Linked DNA regions of Homo sapiens: region 1 is linked to region 2. Evidence: promoter capture Hi-C in human tissues and cell types (Jung and others, 2019). All regions are on one chromosome and are shown on one strand. Each heading gives the region's core, a stretch centred on a gene start or on the middle of the fragment in contact. The rest is flanking DNA. Distances are from core to core; before and after follow the strand shown.

What was found. Contacts are between HindIII fragments. The study calls those that stand out against the background at their distance.
Region 1: a fragment that was not itself captured here is called in contact with the fragment with the promoter of GPR151 in region 2 in 2 of the 25 tissues and cell types used here (H1 embryonic stem cells and hippocampus).

The regions. Positions count from the first base shown.
Region 1 is chr5:147,015,150-147,020,013 of GRCh38, forward strand. It overlaps a transcript of PPP2R2B not described here. Among named protein-coding and RNA genes, the nearest start is that of PPP2R2B-IT1, 98 kb to the left of the region's middle. The HindIII fragment of the contact is 7,167 bases long and covers 1-4,864 here.
Region 2 is chr5:146,514,163-146,519,049 of GRCh38, forward strand. GPR151 (G protein-coupled receptor 151) reads right to left here and starts at 2,028. Exons shown (of 1, transcript NM_194251.3): 1 at 1-2,028. The coding sequence starts at 1,951. The coding sequence ends at 692. The HindIII fragment of the contact is 7,544 bases long and covers 1-4,887 here.

The DNA of each region.
Region 1 (4,864 bases), core at 1,383-3,882, 500 kb after region 2:
AGTGCCTGACACAGAGAAGGTGCTTAATAAATGTTCATCAGATGAATGACTGAACCACTTCCAGACCCTCCTTTCCCCAATTTTATAGACCACATTCGTCTCATATCATTGCCCTGTTTTAAAATTCTCATTGAATTTATATGACTGTAAAAGGAAGTTCACCTTGCTTAGTTGGAACAATGTGAACCTCCTACATGAACCTTCTACTGACATTTGAATTTTCTTCATCAATATTCTTTTGCTCCATTCAAACTGATCTCCCTTGCTTTGCTTTGTGCGTGCTGTACACTTTCCCACCTCCATATCTATATTTGCCAATCTGAAGGTCCAAGTTTTACTCATATTTCAATGCCTAAATCAAAAGCCATCTCCTTCATGGAGCCTTCTCTGATTCCTCCAGCAGGAAACCATCTGTCTCTGCCTTCTCTGAGTCTTACGGTTGGCTGACTCTCATAACACAACACAGTATTGCAGAGAGCATAGCTATGGTTAAGCATAAATTTGCATGCCTTCACAGTGTGACCGTGAGCATGTTTCTTAACTCTTGAATCTTTATTCTCTTAATGTAAAATAAGAATGCTAATATAGTTAATATATTCTTAATATAATATAATATAAAATAATGTAATATACATTCTTAATATAAGAATGCTAATAGTTTACTTGCAGTATGATTATGAGATTATTTGAGATAATGGAAATCCCTTATTTTCTCAATAAATGATATCTATTTTCAGTATCATCACCATCATCTCTTCCTTGAAATACGAGTATATTATTTCCTGTTACATTGTAAGTTTCTTAAAAACATAATAAATGTCTTAATTTGTCTCTACACACACATAGATACTCAGTAAATATGTGTTAAGAGAATTTGAGAACCAAGACCATCACTTTGTCCCCTAAGTTAAAACAAAAATACTTGCTAAAAAGTTGGCCCAGCACAGAGGCCAAGGCAGGTACATTGCTTGGTCCCAGGAGTTCGAGACCAGCCTGGGAAACATGGCAAGATCCATCTCTACAAAATTTTTTTAGAAGTTAGCTGGGTGGGCATGATGGTATGCATCTGTAGTCCTAGCTACTCAGGAGGTAGGAGAATTGTGTGAACCCAGGACTTCGCGGTTATAGTAAGCTATGACTGCACCACTGCACTCCTGCCTAGGTGACACAGTAAGACTCTGTCTCAAAAAAAAAAAGATGATAGCAGTTTTGGGGGGGACAATCATCTTCTAACAAGTAACTCTATTCCTTTATGACTTTGTTTTACTTCTAAGACGTTGTTAGCATAGAATTTGAAGCTTACTAACATTAGGTTTTCTTATTTTATTTCCTTGTATATAAAAAGGACTTGTAGTTAAAAAATATCCACCTAAGCTTTTCTAAAATAAGTCTGAGAAAACATAGGGGACACAGTCACATATACAGATACATTGTGGAATCAATATATGTAGTGAGGAAAATAGAAGCAAGTCTAGGGTGCTATGGGAACACAAAGGCAGTATATTCAATCCTTCTGTGTTGGGAAAATATTTTCTAGAGAAGATGGCAGCTGAGCTAAACTACTAGAGATGAGTGAAAACTAGTCAAAAGAAGGCAAGAGAATGGGCATTCTATCCAGGCAGAAAACATGTCATAATAAAAGGCAAGAAGACTTGAAATCCAAAATAGCATGATATATGCTGGATTTCATAAGCATTTAGGCATGATCACAGCTTCTATTCCAGAGCAAGGAGTAGGAAAATGCAAAGTTGGAGAGAAAGTTGTTGGCCAAGTTACAGAATATCCTACATGTCATGCTCTAGAGCTCCATTTTGCAGGTAAAGGAGAAACATGAAGTATTTTAAATGGGAAAGAACATGGTCAGATTTAAGTTTTGGATAGATTGCTCTGGCTGCAGGGTGGAGGCTAGATCTGAGGAATACAAGAATAAAGGCAAACAAACAAAAATGCACATCAGGGCTATTGAAAAACTCCAAGCTAAAGAAATGGAATGCCCAAGCCAGAGAAGTAGGATAATACAAGAGGCGATGGAGTCAAAAACTGTGGGCAATAGAATCAGCAGGATTTGGTGATTGCTTTATGAATGGGTTTGGAGGGAGGAACCTGGGTTTCTATTTGGATGATTGTGCAGACAGTGATGCTAATCATAGGACATCTTTGAAGAGAAAGAGCAGAACACAGGCTGGGCATGTGGGAGGGAGATGACAGTTCAGTTTCAGTCACACTGGAACGTCTGTGCTTAGCATCTTAACCTTAGGGGAGGGAGAGATTCGAGCTGGAGATAACATTTGTTATCATTAGAAAACAGAGTGGTTCAAACCATGGGAGTGTGTAAACTAACTCAAGGATGAAGTTTACGTAGAGAACAGAATTCTGGTGAACACAGCATTTAAAGCAGAGGAGGAGGAGCCTACAGAGGAAGCATATTAGGAATGCAAAGAGAAAGAGAAGAGAAAAATCAAATGAAAATAAATTTGTTGAAGCTAAGAGGGTAGAAAATTTCAGGAAAGAGGGATTGATCAATGGTATCAAATGCAGCTGCAGTGTAAAGTAAGATACAAGCAAAAAAGTGTTTCTTAGCTTTGGCAAAAGGCATTGTAAATTAGGTTTAGAGTGAGAAGGAAAACAAGACAGGGTTAAGCCTGCCACTTGGAAAAGATGATGTCATGTAAACAAATGACAGTGAAAGAAAAGCTTCCAACATTCCTGTTGCTTGTCTATCCTAACAAAATTAAGGATCTTCAAGCTGGAAAGGTAAAGCAATGTCTTTAAGCAGCAATTAAGGCTCAAGATAAGTTAGAAGATGATAAAGACAGGACCATGTAGTTTTGCATGTAGGAAATCTTCCAGGCCCAGATGAATTATAGTCTACGACACACACATGCATGCGCGCGCACACACACACACACACACACACACACACACACACACTTAGAAGCGTTAAGCATCATAGATAGGAATGTCAAAAATGCTAAGAGGCTGGAAGCTAATAAAAAGAAAGGGGACCTCAGAAAACTTGTCAAATATATAAAGTACTATTATATGGAATAGAAAGAGTAAATTTATTTTGTATGACTTCGAAAGGCAGAACCTAAATAAAAGTGTAGAAATTGCAGAAGCACAGATTTCCACTGGAAACAACTTTCTATCATCCAGTCATGACATAGCCACCATGAAAGGCAGTATTTTCCTGTCTTGGAAGTATTCAAGATGAGGTTGATGGCCATCTGTCAGGAGGGATAGTTGGACTCGATTTGGAAGGGTCAATATCCAGTATTCATGCCTTCACCTCTCTTTAAAAGATCTCATTTTTTATATATATTTTTTAAAAACACTTTTCCTTATTGAGCTTAGAAAATCAAATATATTTGTCATCACTGGATTCTATTATTTCTAAGGTCCTTTCTGAATAGGAAATGTTATGTATCTAGATTCTAGAAAATATAGTAAATGTTGATGTAACGATGAGAAACCCAGCTTAGTTAACTAAATTATTTGGGACCTGGAGAGGACTGGAACAGAGTTGGTGTTGTGTTAGTTTCATTTGTCATGGGACCCCTTGCAGGAGAACAAGGGTTATGGACTGAATTAGGCAGTGCTCCATGCTGGCTTTGGACTACCAGCTTTTAAAACAAATATTTAGTGATGTCCTCCTGGTGCCAGACCCAACACTAGGTAAAGCTACTGTGGTAAAAACATGTAAAGACAGACATCAGGCAAACTCAGAACAGAAGATGATGGTGGTTATTATTTTAAAAAACTCCCTCTTGGCCAGTTAAAATGAATTAGAATGATCAAAAGCATTAGCACTGAGTTCTTGCTTTGTATAGTTCAGCCTACAAATCAAATACTGCTCTCTGTTTATTACTGCAAGATCATAATTCACAAAGGAATGTTCAGAGAGGTCAGTATTTATGACTACCCGAAGTGTTTCATTTGCAAAAATTATAAATGGAAAATCTGGCACTTAGTTAGAAATGTAGATCTTCTGGTACATAAATTTGCCCCATTGATTTTTATGTATTTCTTAAACTGTGCACTGTTGATTTCAATATTGTTTTGGAACAGATTGACCATAAATATTTAAATAACTGCTGTTCAACAAAGTTACTCAAAACAGTAGCTGTTTGAAGATACAACTGTGATCTGCTGAGGTCAAGAAAAGCAAATTAAAATAGAAAAGATTCAGAATAAATTGTTACTTGGAACTGTTTTATCAACCAAAACAGAAGAAAGTTAATAAGATCATCCTTGCAATTTATTAGTACCAAAAATATGTTTGGAGTGGAATGTATGTATACAATATCCACCACCAACATGAAGGTGGGAGGAAAGGAAGATTTTAGATTTCACAATGACCTGAATGAAAGGATTGAGCTACAAAACCTGGTGAAGTGAGATCTAATGCTGGCCAAATAGTTTTACTTTGTTTTTTGTTTTGTTTTGTTTTTTTTTAAAAAGTCTATCTATTACTTTGAAAGAGGATATGTTAAAAGCACAGAGTGCTTTGCATCTGGGATCTACTACCAAAAATATAGCAAGGTGGCTCTTGTCTTAACAACTAGTCTAAGAAATATTCTCCTATGTGACCTGAATACCTACTCTTTTCATTGTAGCATGTAAGAGATGTTAAAGCCATCACTTAAAGATGATTTAAAATATTTCCTAGAGAAGCCTTTCTCAGCCTCCGAGGCTAGATCTGATTCTTCTGTATGAGAGCTATGGGAATACACCGCTCAGATCTCGTTTCAAGGAAAACATGCTGTGAGGGATGACTGAGTATAGCATGGGTACTAGATCTGGCCATTCCTTATCAACAGAGGATTTCTCTAGAAGGCAGTCTTTGCTCTGGGCCTCCCTATTA
Region 2 (4,887 bases), core at 778-3,277:
AGCTTTAAAAAGTTCACTGAAGCAGGCTTTAGTTTAAGTTTGAATTTATTTAAACTTGGCCAGAACCAGCCATGGCTTGAAATGAGTCCAGAATTGGAATAAGGTGCTGTTTCTTTTTCTTTGACCTTCAGTCATGAACATTATGATACGGACTTTTCATCAAGTAAATTAACACTTATTAAGTAAATGAAGAACGCATTAAAATTTATCATTAATGTGTTAAAAATCTCAAGTGAAAGTAGATTTTGAGCTTTGGTTATGTGAAATACAATTTAGTAGGTAAAATTAGGACTAGCAGGTCCTGGGTGAAACTGAAGGTAAAGGGGCTCAGCTTTGACAGAACCTCTACTGCAGGCTCCAGCCGGTCCACTACAGGGCTGGTCCTAGGGGGTACCCAGTAAAACCACTGTGAACAAATGACAGAATAGCCAGGCTGTCTAATCACTTTGACAGCAACATCTTTACACAACACTTAAATTGTTTGGGAAGCCAAGTTCTAATTCTGAAACAATTATTACTTCTAACATGGTTCTCTACTTACCACATTGCACATTTGGAAAGTGTAGATTGTGAAATATTTTTATAATTCCTAATGGTAATAATTATATCAGTTTGTAAAGTCAGCAATATTGATAAGCAGCAGTACAAGTAAATACAATAATCACAGTTTGTTTTGCTTTGAAACTTAAATCTATTTAACACCTTCCCCTGTCTCTTGATCTTCATGTTCCCAGGGGATAGGGTCATTGTCCTGTACAGAAGGGACTGTGTCCCTCTCATGCCAAAACTGCTCTACGTCAGGAAGGATGGGAATCTCTGCCTTCTCAGTTTTCCCTTTGCCAGAGGAGGGAGAGCTGGGTTTCTCTTTTTCTGGTATGGATGCTGGGGATTCTGGAGATGGAACCTTGTCAGGAAGACCCTCTGAGTTGCCAGCTGGTGTTTCCTGAGACTCTGAGACAGTTGGAGGTTTTTTGGTTATCATCCATTTCCATACACCTTTCAAGCCTTCCCTGAACTCTTCCGACATCACAAGAAAAATGAGAGGATTTGCTGAAGAGATGGAAAACATCAAGACTTGAGACAGGGCTATGAAACCTTGTGGTGGGGCCGGGCCTGCAGCCTTCAGATGCCATACCCACAGCCAAGCTACCCATTCGGGGAGCCACAAGAGAGCAGAGATGATGGCAATGCTCAGCAGCATCACTGTGACTTGCTTTGAGCGTATCTGGTTTCTAAGATTTTGAGTCTTAGTTCCTCGTTTTTTACATTGGTCATAAGCTCTCCAGAAATAAAAGCTGGCAAAAAATAATGGAAGGCCAAATGCCAGGAGTGGGTAGAGCTTACCAAACATCGACATAAACTCTTCAGCCACAGCTGGTACATCCACGAGGCACATTTCCACACCTTCATGATGCCTGATGGTGCTAAAGAACCATTCCGGCAGGGGTAACAGGCTAGCCACAGTCCAGATGGCCACCAGCACTGACCAGATGGTGTAGTTGTGGATACTCACTTGCTTGGCTGGGTCACTTGCATACATGAAGCATACTTTGGCCACCACAACGATTGTCAGGCTCTTGGCTGCCATGCATGTGTGGATAAACCAGTCAGAGGACTTGCAGACAAACCAGCCTAGATCCCAAACACTTTTGGAGTACGCCGTAGCTCGGATAGGTGCAGAAAACAGCAGGAGGGAGAGATCAGCCAGGCTGAGATTCAGAATCAGGGAGTGGATCATGGATGGCTTTCCTTTCCAAGCATTGTGAAGGAGGATGCCAATCACACACAGGTTTCCCACGAAGCCCACCAGGCAGACAGCCACCAAGAGAGCCGGGATGATGGTTCTCCAGTCCTGGGAATCAGAGGGCAGGTACCCTCCGGCAAAGTGGAGGTGAGCAAAGGACACATTCATGCTGCTGGAGTTAGAGTCTGCAAAGGCAGCTGCCAGCATCACTCTTCACAGCTTCTTACAGAAGTTAGATTCTTATTTAGGTTTGTCTTTCTGCCTGGGCTCTTTTGCATAGGAAATAAGTACTCTGTCGTCAGTGTCAAATGACACTTCTGGATCCTCCCCTTGCTTATTTCCTGAGAGCAGAATGTGGAAGGAGGCTGGCTGTTAAGCTCTTCTCTGCTGCATACAATATACTTGTGACTGTACCGACTGTCAGATAGCAGGAGCACATGGCTGCTGCTCATTAGCAAGTCTAATACCAAATCGTCAGCCCTGTGGAGTAATACAAATATACCCATAAATGATGAATGAAGAGAACATACATGTAAGTGGCATGTGTTCCTTGGGGGGTCACTAGAGCCAGTCAAGGCAATTATTTTCAACCAGCTCTTCCTAAAATCTTGACTGCTGTCTGTAATTTAGTGAACACTACATCTGAACCAAGTTCTTTGAACTTCACCTGATGGCCGGATCCAGTGGGTCTGGAGTAGGGCCCAAGAAATCATTTCTAACAAGTTCCCATGAGACTCTGATGCTGCAGGTTGGGAGACCACACTTTGAGAACCACTGTTTTAAACTGAGAACTAAAGCTTCCCCTACCCACTCTGCAGAGATGAGCTTCCTCTTCTTTTCCCCAACCCTTACAACCACCTCAGTTCCATCAACAGCTGGCTGAGTTCAAACACAGCTGGATAATGAAAACAAGTTAGAAGTCCTATTAAAAAAATCTAATTATGGATGACTCTCAGTTTATTCTATTACGAGTTTTTAGAAGCAATTTTACAGCTCCAAATTAGAACTGCTTTACATACTAATAAGACTTTTCAACAAGTGATGGTGATGAAGGCAACTGCATGATGAATTAAGCTGCTTTTCAGAGAGCATTCCTAGAGGATTTACCAAGACAAGAGAAATGAAAGAAAAATCAATATCTATGTGGAAGGCATTTAAGAGATTTTTTTAAATTATATTTTAAAGTTGGTAAAGATTTTGTGCTGGGCACACTGGCTCATGCCTGTAATCCCAGAATTTGGGGAGGTGGAGGCGGGAGGATTGCTTAAGGCCAGAAGTTCGAGACCAGCCTGGGCAACAAAGTGAGACCCCTGCCCCCACCTCTACCAAACAAACAAGAAAAAAAAAAAAAAGAAAAAAAAAAAAGTCAGCCATGATGGTGTACACCTGTAGTCCTAGCTACTTAAGAGACTGAGGTGAGAGGGTTGCTTAAGCCCAGGAGTTCGAGGTTGCAGTGAGCTATGACTGTGCTGCTGCACTCCAACCTGAGTGACAGAGTGATCCTCTGTCTCTAGAAATAAAAAAATTCTCAGATAAGATGATTTGGTAGAACTAGCCCTGAAATTTTAAAATAAGCAATGGATACTCTGGGGGGATTAGAGGAGCTCAAAATGTTCAGAGAATGGGGTTTGTGGGGTTGATATGAAGATACATGCTACATTGAGTGTGGCTAGTCAGAAAAGCTAAAGCATGATATACAGGAGAGTATGCTGCTGCATTCAGATCTCTGGATTCTGGTACTGTGCTTTCACGTTTTTCGCAAGTAAAGAAGGGTCTGACGTTTTAAAATTCTTCAGTGTCCTAGAAAATAAATAAGTAGTGATCAGTATAGCTATTGGGACAGTGGTCAGTGGTGCTGGGTTCCTTTGTTTCCATTTCTATTTCCTTTTGCTTTCCTTCCTTTTACCTCTGGGAAGTAGTTGTTCCTATAGAACAGTAAATTGGGGCAACACCTTATTCCAGCAAGGCACAGTAACTCCCAGTAACTACTTAAGGATGAAATATCCTTGAGTCTCAACAAGCATCACTTTTGGGTGTGAAGAGGCCCGCAACGTCTTACAGGGAAGAAAATGGGGGAGGGAGCAGAGTGATGTTTTGCAGATTGTAGACTACAAGGAAGGTAGTTCACTTGATGTATGTGGAAGAGATTCATTCAGAACCAAGAAACAAATATACTGCTTCACACTGTGGCTTATATATTCAAGATTATGATATTCAAGCCTCCTGAAGCTGTATAAGATAAAAAGCTAAATGGGTTCAAGCCACCTTTAATACCATGGAAATTTGATTCTTAATAGACAATTGAGGGAAACTAAAGACTGTCATGTGGTACTTCCCAAGTCTATTGGTACTGACTCAGGGAAGCATCTCCTGGTGCTCCAGCTAGAGATAAAGTCTTTGGACTGAAGGATAATGAACTTTCTCCGCTCTTTTGGGGGAAATTTATTTTAACTTTTTATTTAAAAATAATTGCTTCTGGGCACGGTAGCTCACACCTGTAATCCCAGCACTTTGGGAGGCCAAGGCAGGTGGATCACCCGAGGTCAGGAGTTCAAGACAAGCCTGGCCAACATAGTGAAACCCCGTCGCTACTAAAAAATACAAAAATTAGCCAGGTGTGGTGGCACATGCCTGTAGTCTCAGCTACTCGGGAGGCTGAGGCGGGAGAATTGCTTGAATCTGGGAGGCTGAGGTTGCAGTGAGCCGAGATGGTCCCACTGCATTCCAGCCTGGGTGACAAAGAGAGACTCTGTCTTAAAAAATAAAAAAATAAAAATAATTGCAAATGTATAGAGAAAAAATGCAAGAAGAGCACAAAGAATTGCCCTATATACTTCATCTGAGTTCACCGATTAATTATTTATTGAGACACAGTCTCACTTTGTCACCCCAGGCTGGAGTGCAGTAGCGCACTCTTGGCTCACTGCAAGCTCTGCCTCCTGGGTTCATGCCATTCTCCTGCCTCAGCCTCCTGAGTAGCTGGGACTACAGGTGCCCGCCACCATGCCTGGCTAAATTTTTTTTTATATTTTTAGTAGAGACGGGGTTTCACCGTGTTAGCCGGGATGGTCTCGATCTCCTGATCTCGTGATCCGCCCGCCTCGGCCTCCCAAAGTGCTGGAATTACTGGCTTGAGCCACTGC